Linked DNA regions of Homo sapiens: region 1 is linked to region 2. Evidence: promoter capture Hi-C in 16 types of primary human blood cells and fetal thymus (Javierre and others, 2016). All regions are on one chromosome and are shown on one strand. Each heading gives the region's core, a stretch centred on a gene start or on the middle of the fragment in contact. The rest is flanking DNA. Distances are from core to core; before and after follow the strand shown. Region 1 has its middle 60 kb from the start of PPP1R36. Region 2 holds the start of PPP1R36 (protein phosphatase 1 regulatory subunit 36).

Evidence for each region. Contacts are between HindIII fragments. The CHiCAGO score rates a contact against its expected background, and 5 or more counts as called.
Region 1: a fragment that was not itself captured here is called in contact with the fragment with the promoter of PPP1R36 in region 2 in 1 of 17 cell types (megakaryocytes); the score reaches 5.0 in megakaryocytes.

The regions. Positions count from the first base shown.
Region 1 is chr14:64,608,506-64,611,205 of GRCh38, reverse strand. No RefSeq gene overlaps it. Among named protein-coding and RNA genes, the nearest start is that of PPP1R36, 60 kb to the right of the region's middle. The HindIII fragment of the contact is 1,936 bases long and covers 402-2,337 here.
Region 2 is chr14:64,548,544-64,551,243 of GRCh38, reverse strand. PPP1R36 (protein phosphatase 1 regulatory subunit 36) reads right to left here and starts at 1,283. Exons shown (of 12, transcript NM_172365.3): 1 at 1,178-1,283; 2 at 259-323. The coding sequence starts at 1,246. RefSeq lists a silencer at 1,128-1,417. The HindIII fragment of the contact is 10,629 bases long and covers 1-2,700 here.

The DNA of each region.
Region 1 (2,700 bases), core at 120-2,619, 60 kb before region 2:
ATACCAAGCAATCTTCTTTAAAATTAATTAAATCTAAACATGTTAATATGGAAAGATCTCACATTAGCCATACAGAATGTGTAGTAAGTTTCCATTTGACATAAATTTGTTATGTATACATACTTATATATACTTACTATACTATACACACATACATGTAACACATATATATCGTGTGTGTGTGCGTGTGTGTTGTGTGTAGTAACTCACGACAGGCACCAATCAGAAAGAATGCCACCTGTAGTGCCAGAACATCTGTGCATGGCATAACCCTTTAGATGATTGTAAAGAAGGGGGTCCCAGAAAAGGGGCCAGAGTGGCTGGGTCTCAGGGGCCTGGAGCAGTGTCTATTTACCAGCTTATATGGAAATATTTGAAGATATTCACAAGTAGATGAAGCTTAGTCCTTACATGCAGAAAATAATTCTGGAAGTATTCCCAAGAGACTGATACTAACAGCCTATCAATCAAGATTGGCTGATTTAAACAGAAAGATAAATTACTGGGTAAAAAGAATATTGGGTTCAGTCTCCAGAATGGCTAAGAAAACAGACAAGAATAAAGGGAGGGTGGACAACTAGCCACAGCCACAAGCAAGGCCGCACGACTGGCCAGTCCAATGAACCCCCTGCTGCTACCACCCGTGGTCACTAGATGCTGCTTCTGGTACCACAGCCACTTGAGGACTTTGCAGTAGCACTTAGCACATCCTCTTGTAACCATTTAGATATGCACCTGTTCTTCCCTCTGGACTGTGAGCCTCTTAAGCATAGGAAGAGCACCTTATTAATCTCTGGATTTCCAGCCTCCAACCCAGTCCCTGGCACAGAGTGAGCAGAATACTAAAAGAAATAAATGAGCAAACATAATTTAATTGCTAGATATTACATCAATGTAGGCAGAGAGAGTGAAAGCGGCATTTAGCTGTATGTGTCACTTTCAAACCTCAAAAATGAAAAGGTGCACATGCTTTCTCATTCTCTATTCTTCCATTGAAGGCTTGTCAGATGTGGCTTCAAAAAAAATGCATGGCTTGGGTTTCACGGTAGACTAGTTCTGTCCCTTTCTCTAAATTGAGCATTCTTTTTAGCAGAGATTTTTATAAAGCTATAATTCCATGAAGTTATCATCTTAACTTCAAATGTTAGGTCCAGATAAAGTGGGACTAGGAGTCAATTGAACTTCCATCTCTATTGAAATGTTTGTTTTGTCACATCAAAGAATGTCCAATCACATCTCTGAACCTTTCCTAAGCAAGCAACTTGAAACCAAACATGGCTCATATTGACCAGGGTTCTGGAGAGAAAAAGCAAATAGCAACTATATATTAATAATTGCAGTCATTTTCATACTCAGCCAGGAATCAGGGATATAAATCAGAATTCTGGCTTTGCTGGAACCACAAACAAACCATGTAACCCTTGCAAGTTTCACCTGCTTCTTCTAGACCACAGAGGAGTTAGAGAGTGGGAGGCTCTGAGGACAAAGGATAATAGCATGCTCATAACAATCATGATACAAAGAAAGTAGGCAGTCCTTATTTATGATTATATACATCTACCTAATACAATTCACTATAAAAGGTATAAGCTCAGAGAAATGAAAACTTAACGTTCACACACAAAAAAACCTGTAGATGAATGTTTGCAGCTTTATTTGTAATAGCCCCAAACTGGAAATAACACAGATGACTTACAAAGGACAAATTAAACAAACTATGGTACATTCACATAATAGAATACTAGTTAGCGATAAAAGTAAACTATTGATAAATGCAACAACCTGGGTGGAATTTCCAGAGAATCATGCTGAGTAAAAAAGTCAATCCCAGTAAATTACATGCTAAATGAATCCATGCATACAACATTCTTGAAATAAGAAGTGTATGTGGCTATAAAACATGAGGGACTCTTGGTTTTTGTTGTTGTTGTTGATGGTGGTGGTGGTGGTTTTAGACAGGGTCTTGCTGCATCACCCAGGCTGGAGTGCAGTGGCATGATCACAGCTCCCTGCAGCCTCAACCTCCTGGGTTCAAGTGATCTTCCCATCTCAGCCTCCCAAGTAGCTGGGACCACAGGTGTGCACCACTACGCCCGGCTATTTTTTTTTTTTTTTTTTTTTAGTAGAGGTGGGGTCTCAGTATGTTGCCCAGGGTGGTCTCAAGCTCCTGGGCTCAAGCAATCCTCCCGCCTTGGCCTCCCAAAATGCTGGGATTATAGGCATGAGCCACCATGCCCTGCCATGTCCTATGTCTTGACTGGTTCAATATCAATATCCACTGTAAAATTGCACTATAATTTTGCAAGATGCTACCATTGGGAGAAACTGGGTAAAGCTTTCACGGGATCTCTGTGTATTATTTCTTACAACTGCATATGAATCAGTAATTATCTCAAAAAAAGTTTAATTTAAAAAAGAAACAAATGAAAATGTATAAGCAAGATAAAGCTGTAAAAATAGGAAACAAGGCCGGGCGCAGTGGCTCATGCCTGTAATCCCAGCACTTTGGGAGGCCGAGTCGGGCGGATCACAAGGTCAGGAGATCGAGACCATCCTGGCTAACACGGTGAAACCCCATCTCTACTAAAAATACAAAAAAATTAGCCAGGCATGGTGGCGGGCGCCTGTAGTCCCAGCTACTCGGGAGGCTGAGGCAGGAGAATGGCGTGAACCCATGAGGCAGAGATTGCAGTGAGCCGA
Region 2 (2,700 bases), core at 34-2,533:
TTGAAACCTCAGTTTCTTCATCTGTAAATTGGTTAACATGCAGCTGTTTCAAAGAGTTGGTAAACATTAGCACAGTGTCTGGTCCATGTGAAGCAGCTGGTAAGCGTTCAGAGAAAGGCTGTTCACTGAAATGATTGTTTCCTTCCAGATGGCAAAGGTTCAGTGGGTATTTATTCTCTATACTCTTCTGTTGCTTTTTTTTCCCCCAGGCACATGTAATTTTTATAAAAACTCTAATAAAGTGTTGTTAAATTTTACCTTCTGAATTCAAGAGTTCTGGTTTCATCTTTCCAGTACCACATCCCTAATCGTAATCCCAACTGCTGTAAAACGAAATGATTGCAGCAAAAATAATTAAAAGCTCAATTTACAATCCATATGCCACAATAAACCTTTAACAATAATTCCTACTTACTAACACATCTTTTAAGTAATAAGAAGGAAACAAAAAACAATGGTTCCTACTAGTCCCTCTTTACACTTTCAGTAAGAGTGTAGAATCCTAAAGCGTTAAACTTGAAGCTAGGATTTTATCGCTTTGATTGATTTTAGGTGTGGCTTCAGTAGAACGGCAGGAAGGAGGGAGAGGGAGAAAGGAAGGGAGGAAAGTAGGAAAAGAGGAAAGAAGCAGCGGAGGAAGGGAAGGGCGAAAGATAGGAAGGAAATTGGGACTACATATAGCTCATCATAGCAATCTACCAATTAATTGAAATTCAGACAATAAACTGATACCCAGGACAGCCTCAGCTGTCTGGTTCTGGAGACTTCCGGGCTCCAACACTGAGCCTGCCCTTTACAGGCAGTGGCAAAAAGTTAAGTACACCCTTTTCACCGTGGAAGCTAGCACCCACCAGCCTTTCTATCCAGAGCGGGGCTGCTTCCCCCGCAGTAGGTCTCCCTATTTTGCAACCAACCAATTAGAGGTGGTGAGGTGGGATTTCGTAAATATCTAACTACCTGCGCAGGGAGCCAGAATTCAATTCTGACCATCTGTCAAATACACCAGAGTTTTTTTTTTTTCTAGGCAAATATGGCCAGGTGTCTTTGAGAACCGCCAGCCCGGGGCGAAGGCGACGACCCGCCTCTGGAGGAGGGCGAGGGGCGCGGCGCCGGTTGGGGGCAGCAGGGCCCGCCTTGCGCCCAGCCCGGGTATGGGGGCGACCAAGGCTGCACTTACATCCATCAAGTAAGGGGTCTGCCCACCTAACCGCTTCCTCCTCGCATAAAACTCGGGCACCCGGTACATGGCCTCGCCCTGGAAGCCATACGGCGTCGCCGAGGATACCGCCCGCAGGCGCCTGCACACGGCTGCCCGGGGCGCGGAGCGGGGCGGGGCGTCGCTTCCGTCCTAGGCCGCGCGGGCTGCGGCCGCACCCAGGCTTCTCCAGCGATTTCTAAAGCCCAGCCTGGTGCCCCGTTTCCCAGTCTTAAAAGCCGTGGCGACGTATTGGCCTATCCATTGTAAAGCCGCCCAGGGCATAATTCTTCATGGCATTCCAACCTTGAACTTCATGAAGTTATTCACTTTACTGTTTTAATTGGAGTAACTACATTCAGTCCTATAGGGAAGAAAGATCCATTTCTTCCTAACTTTCATGATTAGCACTATTATTAAGTTCAAATCCAGGATGAACCTAGGTTGATGGGGAGAGCAGGGTTGAGGTGGGGAAGCAGGGTAGCCTCGTGGAAGAGAACATGGGTACGGAAATAAGGTTTTCATAACAGTTGTGCTGCTTAACAAGCTGTGGAATCTAGGACAAGACTATTCTGATCTTTCTTCTGAAAACACCAAATCAGGGGTTATGTGGATTTTTGGAGTGGTGTGTGTAAAGCACCAGTCTTAAGTACTCAAAATTAGTGTTGCTCAAAAACAAAGAAACTTGCTTAGTGTCAATGGGTATTCAATTGATATTTTTACATTTACACTTTTCAAATCATGTGTCTTGTAATTCCTTCTTGCAACGGAGTTGATAATGCTGATTCTGGCTGATTTTTTTCCTCCCAGCTCTAAGTGAGCAATGCTAGATGATGCAACATGATTGGGAATGCCTAGTATATTCTTTTGTATCACCACAGCTTAATTGGTATGAGAGGCTCATAAGTAGTGGATATATACTCCCATTAACTTTTAAGTTATGTCAGTAGTCATCCCACTGCTTCTTCTATTCCCACCCTCCCAGTCTCACTACTTGGTAATACACAATCACTGGCTACAGTGATTAAATAGTAATCATCTAGATTCATGTTCTGCTCACTTGAGTCCATTCTGGCAGCTGTTCAGTTGGTCCAGGTATATGGAAACCCACTTATATACTGGCCGCAGGCAAGGCTTTCTTACTACAAGATGACACGCTTGAAAAGGAGACTATCCCATATGCCAAGAGCTTTTCACCAAGTAGCGAACATAACTTGGGGTGGACAGGACAGGGAAATAATGAGGTAAAGCTCAAGAAAAGATGCAGACAGACCAAGGAATCTGGATGGCATCCAATCACTACATAATCATTACCGGGAAGACCACACTAGTGGTCAGTAAACCTCTTCAGTTCATCCCAATAATGTGTGGAGAAGTGCTGATAGAAAACTTAAGATCTATATATCTTATCACAGAATAAACTTAGGCTGTCTAATGTACAAAACTTAGGTAAAAATAAAAGTTGAGAGCCCAAAACAATAACTACTTAAAAATTAAAGGAGAAG